Linked DNA regions of Homo sapiens: region 1 is linked to region 2. The links are contacts of gene promoters, found by promoter capture Hi-C in blood cells and fetal thymus (Javierre and others, 2016). All regions are on one chromosome and are shown on one strand. The core of a region is centred on a gene start or on the middle of the fragment in contact, and the rest is flanking DNA. Distances in the headings are between cores, read along the strand shown.

Region 1 (4,251 bases), core at 940-3,439, 2.2 Mb before region 2:
GGATTAGGATTACGATCGACAGGGTTATTTTACTTTTTCTTTCTGTGCTAAATCTCTTATTTCCTGGATCCCGTGTCGTCTTCTTTCTTGGTTTTATCCTCCTTTTTCAGGGCGCATCTCTTTCAACAGATTCCTGAGAATAGTTGCCAGGGTGCATTATCACTACATAACTACATTTTTTTTTTTGTCTTTTTCTTTTTTTTGAGACAGAGTTTCGCTCTTGTCGCCCAGGCTGGAGTGCACTGGCACGATGTCCGCTCACTGCAACCTCCGCCTCCCGGGCTCGAGCTATTCTCCTGCCTCAGCCTCCTGAGTAGGTGGGATTACAGGCGCCCACCACTATGCCCAGCTTTTTGTATTTTTAGTAGAGACAAGGTTTCACCATGTTGGCCAGACTGGTCTCAAACTCCCGACCTCGGGTGATCTGCCCGCCTTGGCCTCCCAAAGTGCTGGGATTACAGGCGTGAGCCACCACGCCTGGCCCCACTTAAAAAAAAAAAAAAAAGACGGAGTTTCGCTCTTGTTGCCTAGGCTGGAGTGCAATCCCACGATCTCGGCTCACCACAACCTCCGTCTCCTGAGTTCAAGCGATTCTCCTGCTTCAGCCTCCTGAGTAGCTGGGATTACAGGCATGCACCACCACACCTGGCTAATTTTTGTATTTTTAGTAGAGACAGGGTTTTACCATGTTGGTCAGGCTGGTCTCAAACTGCTGACCTCAGGTGATCTGCCCGCCTCGGCCTCCCAAAGTGCTGGGATTACAGGCGTGAGCCAAGGCACCCAGCCCTAATTTTTGTATTTTTAGTAGAGACAGGGTTTCACCATGTTGGCCAGACTGGTCTCCAACTCCTTATCTCGTGATCTGCCTGCCTTGCCTTGAGCCACTGCGCCCAGCCCACAAGTGCACTTTTAATGTTATGGACTCTACTATTTTTTATGACTTCCAGAATATGCTATAACTTACACCCCATAGTTTAATATTCCCAATTGAACATTTTCTTCCAATATCTGTATTAAGAAAACTGCAAGGGGTGTCTTTGTCACACTTAGTGAGGATTTCCGCAGGCTAGAGTCCTACAAGGGGAATTGCTGGGGCAGAATGTTAACTAGTTAGGTATGAGCAGAACAGGAGAGCGCTCCCCACCCCACACATACCAGGACTATTGGGTGACAATCAAACGATGGTCAGGCGGTTCTTAACTGTTTCTCTAACGTTCACCGGGGCCAGCGAAAGGCAGTCTCCTAATAGAAAACACCTGAAACTGATCAGTAGCTTCCCAGTAAGATCTCAGGAGTGGGGAGAAGCAATGCAAGTTCCCCAAAGTATGCCAACATATAAAACTTCAAGTCAACAGGTCAAGCTGCGCACTTGGTTTCTCAAGTCGCCTGCTTGGCAGTCTTCCAAGTTGTACTTTCCTCCTTTTCTTTCCGTCCCGTTCTAAAGCTTTTTGATAAACTTTTACTTCTATTCTGAAACTTGTCTAGGTCTATCCTGCCTTATGCCCTTCGTGGAATTATTTCTTCTGAGGAGGCAAGAACTAAGGTTACTGCTGACCCCTACCTATACAGGGGGTAACTGCCACCGCTAACAAGAAGGGGAGAATCAGCTTTTCTTTCTTTTTTTGAGACAGTAAAAGTCTGCTGTGTCGCGCGGCTGGAGTGCAGCTGCACGATCTCGGCTTACTGTAACCTCCGTCTCCCGGGTTCAAGCGATTCTCCTGCCTCAGCCTCCCGAGTAGCTGGGACTACAGGCGCGCGCCACCACGCCCGGCTAATTTTTGTATTTTTAGTAGAGAAGGGGGTTTCACCATGTTGCCCAGGCTGGTCTCGAACTGCTAACCTCAAGTGATCTGCCCTCCTCGGCCTCCCAAAATGCTGGGATAAAGACATGCGCCACCGCGCCCGGCCGAGAATCAGCTTTTCTCTCACATCTGATCTTTCCGTGTGTTAAGGCAGAAGCAAGGCACGGTGGGCTGAGACTCACACGCCCCCTCTTTCCTCCCCGGCCTAACGCACTCTTCTTTCTGTCCCACCACGTGCTGTGTTCGCGAGTCCCCATCACTCCTGCATCCAAACCGACTAGATTTTTGTTTCCATTTCCCTCCCGGAAAAGGCGGGACAGCGAAGACTGGCGTTTCCGCCGCTGAGGGGCTGAGGCCGGGAGGGCGCAGCGTAGCCGTCCCGAGCTGATGACGTCAAACGCCGTGTGCTCACCCACGTGTGGTGCCCCTCTCCCGGTGTAGGCGCTGGAGCTGAGGACGCCTTTCCTGCGGGCGTAGTTGCTGGCTGCTCGGGCACTGGGACCTCGGCGGCTTGGGGACGCTGGCCGCGAAGTAGGGAGCGCAGGTGGCCGCTCGGGGTGAGGGCCCTGGGTCATGGAGCACTTCTTGCTGGAGGTGGCAGCCGCGCCGCTGCGGTTAATCGCAGCCAAGAACGAGAAGAGCCGCAGTGAGTTGGGCAGGTTCTTGGCCAAGCAGGTAAGACGTGAAGGGAGAGGGAAAGCGCCGGAACGACTGGGTCGCCCCACTAGTAAGCTTCCTGCGCTCCCCCGCCGATACTCGCCGCTTTAAGTGGGGAGTGGTGCAGCCTCAGGTCAAGCTGGCCCCCTCCTGTGGGCTGGCGCAGGTCGTGGAGGTTTCCGAGCGTGTTTGAGGCGATTGGAAGGAGTCTTTTGTTTTTATCTGGGGGAGCCTTCCAGTACCCTTCCCATCGCCTCTCACCCCTATGCAAGCGCTTTGGCTGCTTGTGGCAGAGGTGGCCTTCCCAAAGGAATGTGGTTTGTTTTTCTGAAATTGAGGTTGCGTTTCTGCCGTTTTGACAAGTGTACGTATCACCTAAGTGTGCGTAGTGCAGCCACTCCTGTTAGTTTGGGGAACCATCGACAAATACTGATTGCATTCCTGCTGTGCGTAAGGAACGGTGTGGCGCTGTGAGAAAGTGGATAGATAAATTCGTTACGATCTCTGCCATGAGGGAAATTTGCATCTGTTTTTGGAGACAGTTCGTAAACACTTACAACAGCTGAAGTACAGAGCAAGACAGCTCATACTCACTGTAACTAACTATACAAATTATAAGGTTAATTAGAGTTTTCTGGGAAATAGGTCTTCGGGCTTTTAAGAACCTTCTCATTGACTCCTTCTATCTGAGTTGAAGACACTTTTTTTTTTTTTTTGAGACGGAGTCTCGCTGTGTCGCCAGGCTGGAGTGCAGTGGCGCGATCTCGGCTTACTGCACCCTCCGCCTCCCGGGTTCAGGCGATTCTCCTGCCTCACCCTCTCAGTAGCTGGGATTACAGGCGAGCGCCACCATGCCTAGCTACTTTTTGTATTTTTAGTAGAGACGGGGTTTCACCATGTTGGCCAGGATGGTCTCGATCTCTTGACCTCGTGATCCACCCGCCTCAGCCTCCCAAAGTGCTGGGATTACAGGCGTGAGCCACGGGACAGGTGAGTGTGGTCCCAGGTACTTGGGTCCCAGGTGTGGCTAATTAAAAAAAAAATTTTTTTTTTGTAGTTGTAAGGTCCCCCTTTGTTGCCCCGACTGGTCTGGAACCCCTGGGCTCAAGTGATCATCCCGCCTTGGCCTCCCAAAGTGCAGGGATTGTAGGAGTGAGCCACCGTGTCCGGCCTAAATTTTTTTTTTTTTTTTTTTTTTTTTTTGAGACGGAGGCACGCTCTGTCGTCCAGACTGGAGTGCAATGGCCCACCCTCTCAGCTCACTGCAACCTCCGCCTCTCGAGTTCAAGCGATTCTTCTGTCTCAACCTCCCGAGTAACTGGGATTACAGGCGTGCGCCACCATGCCTGGCTAATATTTTGTATTTTTAGTAGAGACAGGGTTTCACTGTGTGGGTCAGGCTGGTCTCAAACCCCTGATCTCAGGTGATCCACCCGCCTTGGCCTCCTAAAGTGCTGGGATTACAGGCATGAGCCACAGCGCCCTGCCCTGAAGTATTTTTTTTGATGTATCTCAAGCCCAATTGTTCTGGGGAGTGGGGCCAATTTTGCTCCCAGGGACAAATCTGGAGACCTTTATGGTTATCACAACTATTCATTATGGGGGTGCTACTAGCATCTAGTGCATCAAGGCCAGGGACGCTGCTAAGCATTCTGTTATGTATGGGACAACCCCTTACAACAGTTATCCGTCGTAAATGGCAGTGGTGCAAAATTAAGAAAGAAACCCTGCCCCAGACTGGTTGTTTACTTTCTGCTCAGGGCTTGCTATTTCAGCAACACTAAACTGCCTG
Region 2 (4,444 bases), core at 157-2,656:
CATAAACCGTTTTAATCAAAATAAAAAATCAGATCCATGACATAGCCTTCTTCATCAATCCATTGTTTTAACATAGGGAGAATGTAGCTTCTTCATGTGCATTTTTCAGCTTTCTCAGACAGCTTAACTTCAGGGGCTTCCCGCTGCACTTACAATAGAACTCAAGGTCTTACTTTTTGTGGTCCAGAACAGCGCTGTCCAACAGAACTTTCTGTAATGATAGAAATGTCCTATATCTGCACTATCTAAAATGGTAGCTGCAGCCACATGTGATGATTGAGCACTTGAAATGTGGTTAGTGCAACGGAGAAACTGAATTTTTATTTAATCTTACTTTATTTTAACTCAAATTTAAATAGCCACATGTGGTGAGTGACTAACACATTGGACAATACAGCTCTAGGGCTTATCTTCTTACCAACTACACTATGTCTTGCAATTTCTTGCCATCTAGGTAGCCAACATGAGGAGGTCTATAAGATATCCCACCACACACACCCGCATCCACATTACTTTTTCATTCTCATTTTTCATGACGCTCCCACTCTTTGTCTACTTTCTGATTATGATTTTTAAATTCCTCTAATATGCCATTTTATTTCTATCTTCTGGGCCGAAGAAACATGCTGTTCTCTCTGCCCTCCTCGCCCTAATCCTTAACCTAACTTCTACTCATTTTTCAGGTCTCAGCGAAAGGGTCACTTTCTCCAAAAAGCCTCCGCTAACCCCCGACAACCTATATTAGGTTCTTCCCACTCTTCTGTTGTCTGCCTAGAACTCTTTTCCTTGCTAACACTTAAAATTTGTGATCGTCAGTTTATCTATGTTTACCGACTTTCTTGACTGCAGAAACTGAATCTGTTTTGTTTACCACTGCATCTTGGTACCTAACGGAGTGCTTGGCGCACAGTATTTGTGAGATGGAAAAATGAGAGACTGGGCCACATCATCAGGACATCCGACCTCCACCAACCAGAACTTAAAAATCCTCCTAGCCATACCACAAGGCAGATCCGCGTCCTCGCTCCCCAAGCAAAGTTGGCCTCAACTGATCTGGAGCAAGGACGCCTCAGCTCAGTACGCCGCTCCCTCCCTCCTCTCCAGCCAGGGAAGGGATGCCTACGTAACCTCGGCTTCATCCCTTCTTCAAAGGGGAATGAGGCAGCGGTAGAGCCACAGTGCGCATCGGCCACCACATACCTTAGACATCGAGGACGTAGCCATGGTCTTACTGACTCTGCGTATTCCAGATGCACTCGGGATTTCCCGCGCGCCCTCGCGGCTGCAGGGCAGAGGTTAGTGGCGAGCCACACGGCTCCTTGATTGGCTGGCATCACCCTCCGGGGCGGGTTTCCGGCGCGGGGAGGCGGGTCGTATAAGGAGGTGGGGCGAGGCCGGAACTGGCGGACTGCGGCGCACTTCCGTAGAGGTGGACATGGCGTGCGGCTTTCGCCGCGCTATTGCTTGCCAGGTATGGATCCCGGAGCGCGCAGAGGAGTCCCTGAGGAGCTAGGGACCCCAAAGGCCTTTCACCGCTGCGGGCCAGTCCTCAGTCAGCTGGAGGGTGGGTCCCACGGAATCCTGTTAGTTTCTACCACCTCCTCCCCCTTCTCTGGAGCTGGTGGAGCTTCAGAAGTCCTGTGGAGCGTCGGCTGGGATCAGTTTGTCTCGGTGAAAAGTAAACTTTGAAAGGTACCTGGTGCTTTCTTCTCTCCTTCCCACCCCACAGCTATGAATGCTTTACCTGGGTGGCGGCAAGTCATTAGACCATGATTAGACCCCATAGAAGTTAGTGTTCTTTACACTTTAGTGACATTGATGATGGATCTGGATTGTTCTTCAGAAGGACCTCATTTTAAAGCTGCTTATTTCTCTTGCAGTCACTTAGGCAGCCTACCCTAGAATTGTTTTTGGTAACGCCCAAAGATATAAGAGCTATCTGAGACTCAGTTTTTCTTGGTTCAGGGTCGTATTTGAACAGCTCTGTTGTGAGGAAGGGCTTACAAAATTGCAATATAATTGCTTTGTTTTGTTTTTCCTTTTTGTGGAGAACGGGGTCTCGCCGTATTGCCCAGGCAGGCCTCAAACTCCTGGGCTCAAGCTGTCCTCCCTCCTCTGCTTCCCTAAGAGCCGGGATTACAGGCCTGAGCCACCGCGCTGGGCAAAATTGCAGTATAAATGTGGAATTAATCAAAAAGAATTTTTAAGACTCATTGGCCACCCTTGCAAGGAAACTTTCTATTGTGGTCTTGGCTAACCCATTTCCTTCTGATTAATGGATGTACTAGTGGACGTAATTAGCCTGGTGTATAATTTATCTTGGCTCATTTTTACAGTATTTCTAGACATTTGTGGGGAAATCCCTCTGCCTTGTCTTTATGTTTATAGATGTACTGCCCTGTCCGGTGATAATTCGCCAAATATCACCAACATGACATTTTGTTAAGACAGCTGAATTTATTGCTCACTGGGATAAGGAAGAACACCACTGAGAGCTTTGGTAGTGTATTAAACTGGGAAAGCAAGGTCAGATTTTACTGATGGGTATGGCTTAAGGCTGGTCTTTCAGAGGGAGAGGGTAGGAGGGTGTTGGAGGAAGATGGCTTGATTAGGGTTGGACTCTGATCTGATACAGCGGTTTAAGATTGATAGGAAAAGCAAAGAGTGCAAGAAGCCTTAAGGCATAAACTATTGAGGTTTTCTATTGGAAGAACTAATAGGCCTGGCATGTGGTTCATGCCTATAATCCCAGCACTTTGGGAGGCCAAGGTGGGAGGATGGCTTGAGCCCAGGAGTTCGAGACCAGCGTGGACAACATAGGTAGACCCCGTCTCAACAAAATTTTTTTTAAAAAGTAGCCAGGCATGATGGTGCACCTCTGTAGTCCTAGCTGCTTGAAAGGCTGAGTCTGGAGGATCACTTGGACGGACCCACGAGTTTGAAGCTACAGTGAGCTATGATTGTGCCACTGCACTCCAGGGTGGGTGACAGAGCGAGACCCTGTAAACAAAAAATAAAAATAAAAAACGTGAAAAGCTAATAGATTTCTCATGAAGTTCTTATAATGAATGATTAAGTTATTTGGGCAGAAGTCTTCTAGAACAGTAAAGTTATGCTAATGAAGACAAAAAATAATAAATTCATGTTAATGTAGACAGTAAACCATATCAGGGAAGGTAGTTTTGGACCTTAGTATCTAAGCTGTGTGTAAGGGTGGACGTTTTCCATTCTTAGCCCTTAAGTAAAGATAGTGCCATGATGAGAAACAAATTGTGTTTAGTTTTGCAAAGGCTGTGTTCTTTGTAAAGACTGTAAATTGGACCAGGCATGGTGGCTCACACTTGTAATCCCAGAACTTTGAGAGGCCGAGGTGGGAGGATCCCTTGAACTGAGACGTTCAAGACCAGCCTGGGCAACATAGGGAGACCCCCATCTCTATAAAGAAATAAAAAACAAAACTTAGGTGTAGTGGCACACACCTGTGGTCCCAGCTGCTTGGGAAGCTGAGGTGGGAGGATCGTTTGGGCCCAGGTGGCTGAAACTAGCAAGCTTTGATTGCACCGCTGCACTTCAGCCTGGGGGACAAAGTGAGTCCCTGTCTCAAAAAAAAGAAAAAGATAAGTTGGAGAAACAAGAACTAATATATTGAGTATATATTTGTGCTAGTTACTACACATTCACATTTAAGCTCATGGCAACCCTGTGATATAGAAGTATTAACCTTATTATATAATTGAGTCAGTTGAGATCCACAGAGATTAAATAACTTACCCAAAGCCACATCATCAATACATTGTAGAGTTGGTTTATGAACAGAACTCTAACTTTAAAATTAGATCTTTCCTATATACTGTGCTCTTTGTGAAAGCAAGAAGCACAGTCCAATCATTGAACAGAATCTAATGGATTTATACAGCAGTGTAAATTATGCAGATATATATGTATTTCTCTGAATATAGAGTCATTGGGGAATGATCTGAAACTTGAGGATAAATAATAATATTTTCAATACGTTAGGACATGGGGAAAAAAGAGCAAAGAAAAAACATGTTCCGTACAGTTTGAGCATCCCTAAGCTGGAAATCTGAAATGCTCCAAAATTTGAAACTTTTTGAGTGCTGACATGAGACTCAATGTTCATTGAGTTCATTGGAGCTCAATTGGAAATTGGAAATGTTCATTGGAGAATTCCAGATTTTCAGATTAGGAGCTGGGTATGGTGGCTCATGCCTATAACCCCAGCACTTGGAGAGACTGAGACAGGCAGATCACTTGAGCCCAAGAGTTCAAGACCAGCCTGGGAAACTAATTAGAAAATTAGTTGGGCATGGTGGCACCCTCCTGTAATCCCAGATACTTGGGAGGCTGAGGTGGAAGGATCACTTGAACCTGAGAGGTGGAGGTTGCAATGAGCCAAGATTGTGCCACTGAACTCCAGCGTGGG

Evidence for each region. The method cuts DNA at HindIII sites, captures the fragments that hold promoters and counts their contacts. A CHiCAGO score of 5 or more calls a contact.
Region 1: a contact is called between the fragment with the promoter of MDN1 here and the fragment with the promoter of RARS2 in region 2, in 1 of 17 cell types (fetal thymus). The highest score is 6.8, in fetal thymus.

The regions. Positions count from the first base shown.
Region 1 is chr6:89,817,732-89,821,982 of GRCh38, reverse strand. MDN1 (midasin AAA ATPase 1) reads left to right here and starts at 2,189. Exons shown (of 102, transcript NM_014611.3): 1 at 2,189-2,477. The coding sequence starts at 2,376. RefSeq lists enhancers at 1,252-1,871, 1,872-2,491, 2,146-2,535, 3,112-3,731, 3,732-4,251. The HindIII fragment of the contact is 1,090 bases long and covers 1,447-2,536 here.
Region 2 is chr6:87,586,949-87,591,392 of GRCh38, reverse strand. RARS2 (arginyl-tRNA synthetase 2, mitochondrial) reads left to right here and starts at 1,406. Exons shown (of 20, transcript NM_020320.5): 1 at 1,406-1,471. The coding sequence starts at 1,436. It overlaps ORC3 (origin recognition complex subunit 3), which reads right to left and starts at 1,258. Exons shown (of 20, transcript NM_012381.4): 1 at 1,201-1,258. The coding sequence starts at 1,224. RefSeq lists enhancers at 1,322-1,551, 1,315-2,276. The HindIII fragment of the contact is 3,839 bases long and covers 1-3,551 here.